4 separate regions of the Homo sapiens genome follow, and all the other regions are linked to region 1. Evidence: promoter capture Hi-C in 16 types of primary human blood cells and fetal thymus (Javierre and others, 2016). All regions are on one chromosome and are shown on one strand. The core of a region is centred on a gene start or on the middle of the fragment in contact, and the rest is flanking DNA. Distances in the headings are between cores, read along the strand shown. Region 1 holds the start of H2BC13 (H2B clustered histone 13). Region 2 has its middle 14 kb from the start of ABT1. Region 3 overlaps LOC105374986 (a long non-coding RNA gene). Region 4 overlaps H4C8 (H4 clustered histone 8).

Evidence for each region. Contacts are between HindIII fragments. The CHiCAGO score rates a contact against its expected background, and 5 or more counts as called.
Region 2: a contact is called between a fragment that was not itself captured here and the fragment with the promoter of H2BC13 in region 1, in 3 of 17 cell types (non-activated CD4 T cells, M1 macrophages and activated CD4 T cells). The highest score is 6.4, in non-activated CD4 T cells.
Region 3: a contact is called between a fragment that was not itself captured here and the fragment with the promoter of H2BC13 in region 1, in 2 of 17 cell types (neutrophils and monocytes). The highest score is 7.2, in neutrophils.
Region 4: a fragment that was not itself captured here is called in contact with the fragment with the promoter of H2BC13 in region 1 in 1 of 17 cell types (erythroblasts); the score reaches 5.6 in erythroblasts.

Annotation. Positions count from the first base shown.
Region 1 is chr6:27,805,970-27,809,618 of GRCh38, reverse strand. H2BC13 (H2B clustered histone 13) reads left to right here and starts at 1,690. Exons shown (of 1, transcript NM_003519.4): 1 at 1,690-2,140. The coding sequence starts at 1,713. The coding sequence ends at 2,093. H2AC13 (H2A clustered histone 13) reads right to left here and starts at 1,446. Exons shown (of 1, transcript NM_003509.3): 1 at 952-1,446. The coding sequence starts at 1,409. The coding sequence ends at 1,017. It also overlaps the pseudogene H4C10P. RefSeq lists enhancers at 586-1,184, 1,103-1,302, 1,643-1,872, 2,123-2,222, 1,785-2,384 and 1 more. The HindIII fragment of the contact is 5,899 bases long and covers 1,124-3,649 here.
Region 2 is chr6:26,609,490-26,613,393 of GRCh38, reverse strand. No RefSeq gene overlaps it. Among named protein-coding and RNA genes, the nearest start is that of ABT1, 14 kb to the right of the region's middle. The HindIII fragment of the contact is 3,442 bases long and covers 315-3,756 here.
Region 3 is chr6:26,261,647-26,265,218 of GRCh38, reverse strand. It overlaps LOC105374986 (a long non-coding RNA gene), which reads right to left. Exons shown (of 3, transcript XR_926613.3): 3 at 3,291-3,572. Among named protein-coding and RNA genes, the nearest start is that of H3C8, 8.0 kb to the left of the region's middle. The HindIII fragment of the contact is 3,420 bases long and covers 491-3,572 here.
Region 4 is chr6:26,281,208-26,285,138 of GRCh38, reverse strand. It overlaps H4C8 (H4 clustered histone 8), which reads left to right. Exons shown (of 1, transcript NM_003543.4): 1 at 1-13. Among named protein-coding and RNA genes, the nearest start is that of H4C8, 2.4 kb to the left of the region's middle. RefSeq lists enhancers at 1-28, 1-320, 29-764. The HindIII fragment of the contact is 1,969 bases long and covers 308-2,276 here.

The sequences.
Region 1 (3,649 bases), core at 441-2,940:
ATCACTATCCACAATTGGCTAGTGGCTGCAATACTGGACAGGACAGCCTTATACACCTGTCCCCTCAATTTTCTATCTTTTGACCACTTAAATTTAAAAAACTTCTATTTTTATAACCAAGAAAAGCTGGTTCGCATGTGAGAAATTCAAGGCCAAAAAATGTCAAAGAAACAACTTTATGTGAACTTTTCACTTTTAGATTAAAGTAATTCCATTGCAGCTTATTTTTCCAATACTCTAGAAATGTAATTCATTTTCTTTTAAGAATCTATTCCATTCGTACATCCAGATCTGATTCAGATTAAAAACATCAAGTCAGATATTTTAAAAGTGGAATTTACCATGCTGAAACAAATTAAGTCATCTCTGTACTAAGAAATCAATTTGTGTGGCTGGGGGTGGGAAAGCTCGGGAAATTTTAATTTCAATGAATTTTCAGAAAATGCTTCAAAGAGAACTACCTGGCACCATAAGTAACTGTTCTAATTAGTCTAATAATTATTCTCAACTCAATCATTAATGTTCAAATGCAATTAATTATACAGATTCGAGAGATATTTCTCAGAAATGAAGAATCCAAGTCGTTGATCTAGATTTGGATTGAACGTCGAATGCCCGGTTTGTTATTTACCAAGACCCAGAAAACATCTGGCCCCAAAGCAGACATGTTTGCTTCAACAGACTAAAAGTAAAACCCGACGGTGAACCATACAGAATTCAACATACTTGGATAATGCCAGCTTAGGAAAAACTAAATTTTCTTCCACTAAGCTTAAGATGAAGGCGTGTTTAATACTTTTAATGTTATCCAGGCTTTTTATAAAGCTAACGAGATTGTCACTACCTAACCAAGACACCGAAGACTGATCTACGTAACCTTTGGAGTGGTTTAGAAGTAGGCAAAGACGAGAAATTACATTAAACATAGTGCTCAGTTCTTCCACAAAATTGTAGGTGGCTCTGAAAAGAGCCTTTGGTTCCTTTGGGATTGAGTTGCTGCAAACTAATCCAGGCTTCTACTTGCCCTTCGCCTTGTGGTGGCTCTCGGTCTTCTTGGGCAGTAGCACGGCCTGGATGTTGGGCAGGACGCCACCCTGTGCGATGGTGACTTTGCCCAGAAGCTTGTTGAGCTCCTCATCGTTGCGGATGGCCAGCTGGAGGTGACGCGGGATGATGCGAGTCTTCTTGTTGTCGCGGGCCGCGTTGCCAGCCAGCTCCAGGATCTCGGCGGTCAGGTACTCCAGCACCGCCGCCAGGTACACCGGCGCTCCAGCACCGACCCGCTCCGCATAGTTGCCTTTGCGGAGCAGGCGATGCACTCGGCCTACGGGAAACTGAAGCCCGGCCCGAGAAGAGCGGGTCTTGGCCTTGGCGCGAGCTTTGCCTCCCTGCTTGCCACGCCCAGACATGGCAAAAGGCCTATTATCTATACGGTCAAGAAAGACTGAAGTGAAACTAGAAAAACGTACATTTTATAGCCTCTACTGGGCGCGAAAAGGAAGCTGTGCGATTGGCTTACGTTTTATTTTTATTTAGACCAATAGGACTCGATTATGCAGGATACCTATTTTGATTGGGCAAAACTGGCATCTGTCGTCATCCACGGATAATTACCAATCAGCAGAGACCTTCCCACTACCTCGGCCGCATAAACTATTATATAAAAAGAGGAGACCGACTTCTTGTTTTGGTTTTGCCACTATTGTTTCATTATGCCCGAGCTGGCCAAGTCTGCTCCCGCCCCGAAGAAGGGCTCCAAGAAGGCGGTGACCAAGGCCCAGAAGAAGGATGGCAAGAAGCGCAAGCGCAGCCGCAAGGAGAGCTACTCCGTGTACGTGTACAAGGTGCTGAAGCAGGTCCACCCCGACACCGGCATCTCTTCTAAGGCCATGGGAATCATGAACTCCTTCGTCAACGACATCTTCGAGCGCATCGCAAGCGAGGCTTCCCGCCTGGCGCACTACAACAAGCGCTCGACCATCACCTCCAGGGAGATCCAGACCGCCGTGCGCCTGCTGCTTCCGGGGGAGCTGGCCAAGCACGCGGTGTCGGAGGGCACCAAGGCCGTCACCAAGTACACCAGCTCCAAGTAAATTCTCAAGCTCTTGTCCAACCCAAAGGCTCTTTTCAGAGCCACTCACTATTATCTAAAGAAGAGCTGGTTCGCTCTTCCTATCACTGGGGGGCGAGGGGTCATAAATCATTTTGATCTATCCACTAAATTAATCTAGCTCTTTGAAAGCCATTTAAGGTGAAATGTACATGAGGTACGTGCATATAGCTACCAACACCATAGAGGGTCCGACCTTTGCGCTTGAGGGCATAAACTAAGTCCTTAGCAGGGACTGCTTTGCGCTTTGCTCGTTCCGTGTAAGTCAGTCAAGCGCATCCGGGATCACGTTATCCGGAAATTCCTTGAGCATCCACGGGTTTCTAAAAAGATGAGACCAGAATGCGTTTGACACCGCCAGGCCAGGCTCCAGGTGGTGGGTCTGGTGATGTCTGGATGTTGCACAGCAACTTGCGGTGGCGCCCCCTTTACCCAATCCTTTCCCTCACTTGCGCAACCAGACATGATTTTAAGGCACGACAAAAGACCCGAGGTAAAAACCAAAAACAGCACTAGGAAAACAAGGCTGGCGTTTTTAATCTTTCCGACTAAACTGGAAACTAGAGGGGTGGGCGCGGTGGCTCATGCCTGTAATCCCAGCACTTTGGGAGGTGGAGGCGGGCGGATCCCTTGAGCCCAGGAGTTCGCAACCAGCCTGGGCAACATAGCAAAACCCCGTCTCTGCAAAAAGCACAAAAATTAGCCAGGAGTGGTGGCGCGCCCCTGTTGTCCCAGCTACTTAGGGGGCTGATGTAGGAGGATGGCTTGAGCCTGGTAGGCGGAGTTTACAGTGAGCTGAGATCGCACCACTGCACTCCAGCCTGGGTGATAAAGCCAGGCCTTGTCTCAAAAAAAAAAGTGGGAGATCAGTAAAAGTTAACACCTTGCCTTCTCCTAATTGTCAATGCCTGCTAGCAAAAGATGCCAGAGTAGATTTTTAAAAGTTTTTCTTGTTTTCACCCAAACCCAACTGTTTTTCGTATACTATTTACCATCCAATTTACTAACATTTATTAAGCATCTACTATTCACCATAGGCCAGTCATAGTATTCTGCTATAGGAATGGAAAATCCTGAATAAGCCTCCCAGACCTTAATTCTCAATCATTGCTGGTGGCCCCACAAATTGGTAGTGCTTTCATAAAGGAAAATTTGGTAATACCTGTCAAAATTTTAAAATGCACCTATCTTTACATCAGAAATTTCACCCCTAGGAATTTACTATTTTTGAAAATATGCAAAATAATATATGCAGGGGTTTCCAGCAGCACTGTTTGTAGTATAAGACTGAAGCAATTTGACTGATTAGCAATAAATTACAGTACATCATTCTATCTAGTAAAAAATAAGAAGGCTCTTTTTCATAATTATTTACTGCTTATCATGTGCCAGATAATGTCCTAAAAAGCTCTCTACATATGTTAAATCATTTAGCTTTCATAACAACTTTGTGAAAAATTACTATTTTTATACCTGTTTTACAGATCATAAAATGGGGGTTCAGAGAGCTCGAGTAAATTGCCTAAAGTGTGAAATTGT
Region 2 (3,904 bases), core at 786-3,285, 1.2 Mb after region 1:
GGCAGTATCCAGCTCGAAAACCCAGGTCCAGCCACATCACTCACCAAAGGTAGTTCTACATGGAGAAGCCTGATCCCTCACCGCCGCCTTCCTAGGGGGACCAGGAGCTTTCGGAGAAGCCCGCCAGCCGCTGGCTCTCTACGACCCTGCAGTGTTCAATACATTGATGTGTTTCGCCCCACTCCCTTCCACAGATTAGCCAGGAGGTCACCCTGCAGGAGCCTGGTGACCATCAAGATTGCTTCCCCTGACCTCATCCAAGTGAGCCAGTTTCCAGTACCAAAGCCGACTTTGAGCTAAGCACCCTTAAAGCTTCCAGACCCTTATGGCACAAAAAATCAAACCGAGGCCCTCAGAGAATGCAAAAAAATGAAAGTGGAAGACCCAATATTCCCTGAGCCAGGACAGGAAAACAAGTCTCCAGGAGACCAGATATTCACATTCAACTGTGATAGCCAATGGGATCCCTGTTTATTTGGTGCCCGAGTCCCTTGAAGCCAAACCTCCATTCCCAGAGCTCAGATGACCACTAGAATAAGTCTCATCATCCCTCCAAGAGCCCCTTGACCAGCATATTCCCAAGTGGTCCCCTCAGCTCCAACAGAAATGACATTGGCAGCTCCTACAGCTCTCCTGGAAACATTTCAAAGACAGGGAAGAGAGGAGGTCCCAGTTTGCAATTTCACATCCCTCCTGATGTCTAAAGTACTCATTATCCTCTTCCCCTAAAAAAGGCACAGAAGAGCTTGAACCCAGGAGGCTAAGGTTGCAGTGAGCTTAGATCATGCCACTGAACTCCAGCCTGGCGTCAGAGCAAGACTCCCTCTCAAAAACAAACAAAAAGGCACAGAAAAACATCTGTCCACACTTTGCTGTATAGGGATTAAACAATGAGGTTCAGGCTGCAGACACTCCCTCACAGAAGAAAACAAAGCAAAACTCAAGGAATACATCGCCCACATCTGTTAGTTCTGGGCCTCATGAAAGCAAAACTTTGCTACAGCCTTCTAAGCCATAGGGGGAGGGTATCCTGTCTTCAACTCCCCAACTTGGTTATGCAGTCACTGCAGAAAACTTGGACAAGAAAGCTGCACTCTGGTAGGTCAACGAAGTCATAAAGGAGCAGACTGAGGCCACCAATGACTATCCTGAGATTGTGCCTGCCACTCAGCCCATCCTTTCTGTCACCCTACCTGCTGCTGGGACTGCACCATTTCCAACTACCCCTCCATTTGGGAGCACTAATCCAAGCTGGAGAGCTTGAAAGTGATGCAGAATACCCCAGGCCCACTGGCCTTCCTATAGTCCACTGGAGGGATAACCTGTGTGGCTGCTTTGCCTCAGGAGACATCCAGCTTGCTGACCCCTTTGGTGTCCTCGAAGTCAGAGACACTTCCAGGCACCTCTTCAGACTTGAGGCCAACAGTCACTTACTCCTGGTTGACTCCTGCTTCTACCACATTACTCATCACTGACCCCACCAAGCCACCTCTGACCCCTCAGGCTGACAGGTCTGCCAAGTCCCCAACCATCCCTGCTCTAAACCAATTCCTGTAAGCATCCCAACCCTTAATTCTCCTACATATACAGATCCTTCTGGATCTTCTGATCCATCTATATTTAGGCTAGTATAGAAGCCCAATCTAAAAGAAAGAAAGAAGGCCACTTGGGTCCCACACAGTCACCTGACAATGAGGCCACTGGCTCAGCGTTTGATAGCACAGCCCCATGAGCCTTCCTTTTGGAGAAATGCCAATCCTAAGGCACTGGTGCTTTAGGATAGGTCTGTCTAGCTCAGTCAGGAGTTCCATTTCTGGAGCATTCATCAGTGAAGCAGGCCCTAGTAGGACCACTGGTGCCATCAGTCTTTTGGGGTATACTTGGTCCTGAACACCCAGGATCCTTTATTCAGGGCACATGATTTTCCTTCAAAGGAGACAGCACCACAGAGTAAGCCTGGGTTTCGAAACCTCTTCACTGCTGCCTCAGTCAGAGTGTCCTGCTTAGAGTGGGCCTGTTAAGCAGCAGAAGTGCCCCTAGGGAACCAATGCCCCCTGACTAGGGTTCAGTGGGAGAAGGACCTGTCAGAGCACCAGCACCTTCATTTTCCATCAGTTTGGGATATAAGACAAGAGCTCAGCCACAGCTGCAAGCCCAGAAGCAACAACCTTTGGGAAATTTCCACAACTTTTCTGCCCATGCTATTGACACTTCTCTTTTTATTTTATTTATTTTTTATTTTTATTTACTTTTTGTTTTTTGAGACAGCATCCCTCTGCCACCTAGGCTGGAGTGCAGTGCTGCGATCTCAGCTCACTGCAGCCTCTGCCTCCCAGGTTCAAGTGATTCTCCTGCCCCAACCTCCCAAGTAGCTGGGATTACAAGCGCCCTCCACCACACCCAGCTAATTTTTGTATTTTCAGTAGAGAAGGAATTTCACCATGTTTGCCAGGCTGGTCTCAAACTCCTGACCTCAAGTGATCCACCCAGCTCAGCTTCCCAAAGTGCTGGGATTACAGGCTTGAGCCACCGCGCCCGGCCGGCATTTCTCTTTTCAATATGTAAGCTCAGATAGGAGTCTTACCTTCCTGCTTTTCCCTGGGAATATGCTTGCCTGAAGAAAAGGGAAGATAGTCTTTCCTCACTTGCATCTTGGGGGTGGGAAATTGCATTTGCCTTTAATCTTTCCCTTCCTTGGTCTGGCTTTAAAGTGTGGTTTTCTTCCTCTGGCTTTTTTTGATGGAGTTTCGCCAGATTGGCCAGGCTGGTCTCAAACTCCTGGTCTCAAGTGATCCGCCCACCTTGGCCTCCCAAAGTGCAGGGATTACAAGTGTGAGCCACCAGGCCCGGCCCCCTCTGGCTTCGTAGGGAGCCTGTTTGTCCACATTTCACTAGTTGTTCATACACAGTCCTTGGAGGAGCTCTAAGAAAATCTTGAATCTAGCTTATCCTTGGGAAACATTGATCATCCCCTGAGAGACACTGTGGATGCTACTCCTGCTGAATGACTGCCTCCCACCAAGTCTGCACTGTCCCTTAGAAAGATAATACTCAGACTGGGCACGGTGGCTCACGCCTGTAATCCCAGCACTTTGGGAGGCTGAGGCAGGTGGATCACCTGAGGTCGGGAGTTTGAGACCAGCCTGACCAACAAGGAGAAACCCTGTCTCCACTAAAAATGCAAAACTAGCTGGGCGTGGTGGCACATGCCTGTAATCCCAGCCACCCAGGAGACTGAGGCAGGAAAATCACTTGAACCTGGGATGCAGAGGTTGCGGTGAGCCAAGATCATGCCATTGCACTCCAGCCTGGGCAACAAGAGTGAAACTCCGTCGAAAAAAAAAAAAAGAAAAAAAAAAACAAAAAAAAAAACAAGAAAAGAAAAGAAAAATGATGTTCCATCCCCATCCTCTCTCTGCCCATTTAGCCTTAAACACCTAGAGGTTTAAGACTGTTAGCCTGGAAAACATCAGTCAGATTCCTTGCTCCTTGAGAAAGAACCTCTTAGACAGTTTTCCTACAATTTTGGAGTGGGCCGAATGCCCATTGCTGCTTACAGCTGTCACCTCCCCTTCCTTCCCCATTTGTTTTACTAGACTCATCTCTGTCTCCCCTGGTTTGCTTATGAAAAGCCTTTCTCTTGTGACTTTGTCTGACATTTGTGTATATTTGCTCTTTGAGTTGGAGGAGGAATTGACTTGCATGAAAGATGATAAATTAGTTTTACACTGCCTCCATAATAAATCACCTCAAGCTTGGCAGCTTAAAACACCACCCATTTATTATTTCACAGCACTTTGAGCTAGGAGTCTGGGCACAGAGTATTCCAACTGGGTGCTCTGCTCAGGACCTCACGAGGCCAAAGTCAAGGTGTTAGCTGGGCTGGACTCTTATTTGGAGGCTT
Region 3 (3,572 bases), core at 951-3,450, 1.5 Mb after region 1:
ACGCCTGTAATCCCAGCATTTTGGGAGGCCGAGGCAGGCAGATTTGAGGTCAGGAGTTAGAGACCAGCCTGGGCCAATGTAGCGAAACCCCGTCTCTACTAAACACACAAAAATTAGCTGGGCATGGTGGTGGGCGTCTGTAATCCCCGCTAGTCAGGCGGCTGAGGCAGGAGAATTGCTTGAACCCAGGAGGCGGAGGTTGCAGTGAGCCGAGATTGTGCCATTGCACTCCAGCCTGTGCAACAGCGCGAGACTCCCTCTCAAAAAAAAAAAAAAAATCTGAGTCTGACACCTTTAAAGGTCTGAAAGAAACATTTACTATATATGTATTCTTCTTGAGGGCTGTTACCTATGAGTTTTCATCTACATAACAAGACCACCTTTGTTAGCAAAGCCCTCCCATAACCTGTCTTGCATGATTGACCACCCTAACCTGTTTTTGGCCATGCTCTGAGTCCCCATTCTTTAACCTAAAGATGGCATTTAAGCTTCTGTACCCCCTGCTGGGGTTGGGGTAATTACTCTGTGGTTCTCCCTCCTGCATGTTAATAAACTTGTGTGCCTTTCTCTCCTATTAATCTGTTTTTTGGTAATTGATTTTTGAGAAAAACTTCAGAGGGTGAAGGCGAAGATTTTTCTTGGTCCTGACAAGACTGAGCAGAGAAGAGAGTGAGTTCTTTATACAGCTGTAGGAAGATCATACCAGAGAGAAGAAACATTGATTCATGGATCCTGAGTTGGGTGCATATTTGGGCTATGGACATTGTTCTGATAGCCAACTACATAAAACCAGGGCCTTTGTTTTTCTTAAGCTGGAATTTCCAGGTAACTCAGTACTGATTTATACTTTTTTTTTTTGAGACGGAGTTTCGTTCTTGTTGCCCAGGCTGGAGTGCAATGGCACGATCTCGGCTCTCTGCAACCTCCGCCTCCCGGGTTCAAGTGATTCTCCTGCCTCAGCCTCCTGAGTAGCTGGGATTACAGGCATGTGCCACAATGTCCAGCTAATTTTTGTATCTTTAGTAGAGATGGGGTTTTGCCATGTTAGTCAGGCTTGTTTCCAACTCCTGACCTCAGGTGATCCACCCACCTTGGCCTCCCAAAGTGCTGGGATTACAGGAGTGAGCCACCGCGCCCTGCCTTCTTTTTTTTTTTTTTTTTTTTTTGAGACAGAGTCTCACTCTGTTGCCCAGGCTGGAGTGCAGTGGCAGGATCTCGGCTCACTGTAACCTCCGCCTCCCAGGTTCAAGCACTTCTCCCTGCCTCAGCCTCCCAAGTAGCTGGGAATACAGGTGCCTGCACGCCTGGCTAAGTTTTGTATTTTTTTTTTTAGTAGAGATGTGGTTTCGCCATGTTGGCCAGGTTGGTCTTGAACTCCTGACCTCAGGTGATCTCCCCACCTTGGCCTCCCAACGTGCTGGGATTACAGGCATGAGCCACTGAACCCGGCCTGATTCATACATTTTAATTTTTCAAACGTGTTGCTCCAGATACCCAAGGACATTCAGTTAAGACAGTGAATCAAGAGGCAGGGGCAGGAAAAGATAAGCAATGAGTGCTAACCCCATGGAAGACTGCTCGCCTTATTCAAGGATACCAGTAGTTAAGGAAAGAGTATTATTATATGATAATTTATTTAAAATAAAAAATAAGAGATCTGCAAAATTGCTATCATTTTACTTTTCACATGAAAGAAACCAATGTAATCTTTACAAGGCTTTATATGCTGTAACATTTTCTGAGATTTCATTATACTAGATATCTACGGATGAGCTCCAAAGTACAAAGAAAACTGCTCCTACTAGCAACAGAACTCCACATTAAAATTTCTATAATGGTTATAATGTGATGGCCGAATCCATAATAAAACAAAATTAAATTATGATGAAGATGATACATGTTCCCAGCTACTGATTTTGAGCCCTAGATAAACCTTGACAAAAAATTGAGAGATCACATTTCTTCTTAATCCTTCATATTGAGTGAGACTATTGTCCGATATGAGATCCAGGGATTTTATTTATGATTATAACTGTCAAAAATGGACTATCAATTACTTTCACTTTTTTGGTTAAGTGCAGTTAGAGGAAAAAAGACATATCTGGTGTCTTACAAAATTTACCCAGATTATTCTACGAGACTTTTGGGGAGCAATGTCAATATTATAGAGTCTCTGTTTTCTCCTTGAGCTTTTCTTTTCTTATTTTTCTTTTCTCTTTTCTTTTCCTTTTCTTTTTCTTTTTTTTTTCTTTGAGACAGTCTTGCTCTGTTATCCAGGCTGGACTGCAGTGGCATGATCCTAGCTCACTGAAGTCTCAAACTCCTTGCCTCAAGCAATCTTCCCACCTCTCTCTCCCAAAGTGTTGGATTACAGGCATGAGCCATCACCCCCGGCCGCCTTACTGATTTTATTTAATTTTTTTTTCTTTAAATATAGAGATGAGGTCTCGTTATATTACCCAGGCTGGTCTTGAACTCCTGGGCTCAAGTGATCCTCCTGCCTCAGCATCCCAAAGTGCTGCAATTATAGATGTGAGTCACCGCATCCAACCCTCCTTATGCTTTTCTAATGGAGGACCCAAGAGGCAACATATCCAATGAAACTACCTCATCCTTATGGTCACATCCACATTTGAAAGATCACTAGGCTGTGGACAGAAGTTCTACTGCTGATAGATGTGAATATAGCTTCCTCTCCTCTGGTTAACTCTTAAGAAGTCCACATTTTGCTTTGTTTCTCTCCATGAAATCTTATGTTTCTTTTACAGATGAAGTGTTTTGACCTGAAGATTCATCCAGCAACAAGTGAATGCATTTCCTTTTAGAAATTAAGAATCTAGACCCTTCTTTGGTGCAGAGCATACTAGTTAAGATAAATACAAGTTTATTTTCTGCGGATATGAGGTTCAAAAAGGGTATTCTAGATCAGCAGGTCCCTCTTTCTTCTAGCAGTGGTTCTGGAACCTAGATGCCCTCTGTCTTTGTGGCTTAGCCATCCTAAATGTGGCTTCTACATTTGCCCTGCAAGGGGAAAGAACATGGAAAAATCCTTCGTGGAAAGTTATTATGTCCCAGGCCTGGAAATGTCAATCTTTACTTGTGTTTATGTTCCATTGGCAGGAACTTAGCTAAAAGGCCACACCTAACTGGAAGAGAAGTTGAAAATAGAGGTTTCAACGTGGGCCCCAAAGAAGAAAAAGGTTAAATTAATGACCAGAATTAATAAAAGGCATATGAAATTATTAACGTGTACACTGCAGAGGGGGGTGGATAGAGTGATCACCCAATACTGCAATTGGACATAGATGTTTATTCTACTTCCTAGGGAAATGGGAGCTTGAGAAGTGTTTTTAGGGATATAATAAATGATTTGTAGGGGAATTCAATGGGCTTGAAGAACATGCAAGGGCCTGGGACAATGTCTGTTAGGGCTGCAGAGTAGACAGTGGTTTGTGACAAAATCTATCTAGGTTTGTTGACAGGCTTGTGTTTCTCCCTGTGATATTAGTTCATTTAATGAAAACTCAGAGTAGAGACTAAAGATAATTGTATTCTTTGGCAGGTTTGGACTT
Region 4 (3,931 bases), core at 43-2,542, 1.5 Mb after region 1:
TCAGGGCCGCCCACTTTTTTCATAAAAGAGCAGACATCTTGTTATCCTGCTTTGTTCCAGATTTTTGCTGAGAAGTAGTTACTGTGCACATGTGTAGATTTGCAGGTAACGTTTAATTACTCGTGCTTAATCTCGCATGTTTAGGATTTGGGCATAAAGTACTTAAAGCCACTGTTTTCTGCTTGAGGGAAGTTGGTATGTTGAATATGTTTAGCTTTCTTGTGGCATTTTAACACTAGATATCAGTGAGTAAGCTGGATTGTGACAGTTTATAATTCCCGTGGGCCTTCCTCCTTCAGTTTAAGCTTGAAGCGTTCGTAAGGTTCTCAAAGACTACAGAAGTTGGAAACTTCGCGGAGAGACTGCAAGTTACCCTTTCCAAAATGGCGGGAAGGGCTAAAAACAAAGAAAGCTCGCACCCAGACGGCGGGCCTTAAACCAAGGCGAATCCGTGAGCGCAACACATCTGCGTGAGTAGGATCGCAGACCCAAGTCCAGGCGGCGTGCGCGCTGCTGCTTTTGACTTGGTGACAAAACTCGTCTACAAAAGGCAGTGTGGGGTAACAATATAAATGTTCACTTGAGAGCTTGCAAGTATTGTTTCCAATAGACTTAAAATGTGTTTTTGAATATTACGAAAATATTAAAAGGTAGGGTACCGCTTAGTGAGCAATATAGAAACATCACCATAACTTATTTTGTTGTTGTTGAGACGGAGTTTTGCTCTTTCATCCAGGCTGGAGTGCAGTGGCGCGATTTCGGCTCACCGCAACCTCCGCCTTACAGTTTCAAGCGATTCTCCTGCCTCAGCCTCCTGAATAGCTGGTATTACAGCCGCCCGCCTAATTTTTGTGTTTTTAGTAGAGATGGGGTTTCACCATGTTGGCCAGGCTGGTCTCGAACTCCTGATCTCGTGATCCACCCGCCTCGACCTCCCAAAAGTGTTGGGATTACAGGCATGAGGCACTGCGCCCGGCCACGAAAACTTAAATTCTTAACCAGCAATGATCGCCTTTTGAAAAAGTACACATTCAGGCATCAGGACAATGATTTGCTAGAGACCAAACTTGTAGGAGATTTGGATTGGCTTTTTTTTTCCTTTTTTGAGGCGGAGTCTCACCTTCGCCATGCTGGAGTGAAGTGGCGTGATCTCGGCTCACTGGAACTTCTGCCTCCCGAGTTCAAGCGATTCTACTGCCTTAGCCTCCCAAGTGACTACAGGCTCGCGCCACCACGCCCAGCTAATTTTGGTATTTTTAAGTATAGGTGGGGTTTCACCATGTTGGCCAGAATGGTCTCCATCTCTTGAGCTCGTGATCCGCCCGCCTCGGCTTCCCAAAGTGTTGGGATTACAGGCGTGAGCCACCGCGCCCGGCCTGGATTGGCTTTTCTTACGGCATCATTTTACTTGGCTTCTATACTCTGTCCTGAGCAGAAGTGACTTTTATATACTTAGTTGAAATCAGGTTAATATGCTTGTCAGTTTATACAGAGACATATGTCTGGTTTATCTACGTTGAAGATAATAGGACAATTGCTGCTTTAGGATGATAGTTCCATTGTAAAATCAGATTTTTCCTCTTTGTGGTCAGCAAGCAAATTGTAGGGTTATAACTTTGAAATCGAGAAAATCAATGGAGTTAGGGTTTCATCTTTTTTAAAGATATGCACTTGTACATTAATATGAAAAGAACGATGTTATCAGAGCTAAGGCACTGGTTTGTATGAGGATATAAATTTAACAACAAAAATTGAGCACATAACGTATGCCAGGTACTGTTCATGGCTCTGAGAAGTATAGGAGTGAATGACAGTGAACAAAACAGTATTTTCTGTATGCATGGCGTCTGTTGGGTGTGCTTTCACACGCAAAGTAAGTGAAACTATCAGATGGTGCTAAGTGCTATCACTGAAACAGGCTAAAGACGTGTGGAGGGAGGAGGTGATGTTTAATTAGTTATTTTTTTTGAGATAGGGTCTTGCTCTGTTGCCCAGGCTGCAGTGCAGTGGCGCGATCTCGGCACATTCCACCTCCGCCTCGCTTGGGTTCAAGCAATTCTAGTGTCTCAGCCTCCCGAGTAGCTGGGATTACAAGCATGCGCTACCACACGCAGCTAATTTTTGTATTTTTAGTACTTATGGGGTTAGGCTGGTCCTGAATTCCTGCCTCATGTGATCCGCCCACCTCGGCCTCCCAAAGTGCTGGGATTACAGGTGTGAGCCACCGCGCCCAGTCGAGAACGTGATAATTTTAAATGATAGAGTCATGGAAAGCTTTACTGATAGAGCGATGGTTGCAGAAAAAAAGACGAGAGAATATTCCAAATAGACGACCAAGTAGCAAAGCCTGGAGATAGCAGAGAGTTATTGTGTCTGGGCAAAAGGGCAGAAGAGGTGCAGAGGAATGGAGATGAGGTCTGAAAGGCAAATGGAGGCGAGAAGGGTGCAGAGGAAAGGAGATGAGGTCTGAAAGGCAAATGGAGGCGAGCAGTTCCTATATGGGCGGTGTAACTACTTTGGCTTTTATTCCTAGTGAGGTGGGAGCCACTCAGGGTTTTGAGCAGAGGACTGAGTTGATCTGATTTATATTTTAGAATGAGCTGTCTGGATGCCTGATGAAGAATAAACTGTGATGGAACCTGGATAGGAGCAGAGACCAGTTAGGAGGGTACTAAAATAAAGGAGTTTAGATGGCAGTGGCTTGGACCAGTGTATTAGTGGTAGAGGCTGTGAAAAGTTGTTGGATTCTTTGTTTATTTTGAAAGAAGGTTGATAGTTCGTTTCTGAGTCACTGAATGTGTAGAGTATGAGAGAAAGAAAATTTATGGATGATTCCAGTGATTTCATTGACAGCAACTGAAATGGAGGTATCAATTGCTAAAATGGGGAAGAATACTGAAGGAACAAGTTTTGGAAAGAATTCCATATCTTAGTTTTGGACATCCAGAGAGAGTGTCAGATGCTTATTACACATATCTAAGAGGAAGATACAAAGTAAACAGTTTGATATATAAATCTGGATTTCAGAAAAGAGGTCTGGGCTGAAAACATAGATTGAGTTTTTACTCCCATGAGGGTAAAAAAGCCAGAAGGTGAAATGATATCTGTTAGGAAAAGAGGATTGATAATGAAGAAGAAGCAGTGCAAGGACTGGGCCCTGGGTTAAGGAAGTAAGGAATGTTTGCTTTGTACATACGACATCTGGATTCCTAACTTACAGTTTTACAAGTGCTTTATTTAGTAATTCTGTTTCTGTAATTTTTGGAACAAACAGAAAAAGTTATCCCTATTTTACAAATGTGGAAAAATGCCCTTGGTAATAAGGGTATGCAATAATATTGCAATTTTCATTCAAATAACCTATTAAAGTTAGAGCCATGAAGGGGTTACTTTGGAGACCCAGTGATAGATATTCACACCTTTTTCAAAATGTGCCCACTTTCCCCATATATTTTGCTTGCAATTCCAGGAGTTCTCAGGCCTCCTGAAACGTATTTGTGGATCTCAGCTTGAAAGCTCTGTATTTGATGCTGCCTTTTTTCTTCCCTTAGTTCTGTGGCTCCTGATGGATCTGAGAAGATGGACGTGGAGGATGAAAATCTGTCTGATTATTTTGAACTGATGTTTGTTGCTATGGAGATGCTGCCTATATGTTGATGTTGCAGACGTTAAGTCACTAGCCCACAGCCTTGTATTCCATACTCAGAGACCCTGCTACTTACTTGACATCTCAACTTGAAAGTCCAATTAATATGCACTTCAAACTTTAATAGGCTTCAAACAGAATTTCTTTCATTATCTCTGCAAAACAGCTTCTCTCATCATCTTGAAATTAGTGAATGGCATTTTACTGTTTTAGTTGGAGTCATTTCTGTGGTTTTCTTTCACATCCTACATAACAATCCATCAGTAAGTTCTATGAGCTCTTCTT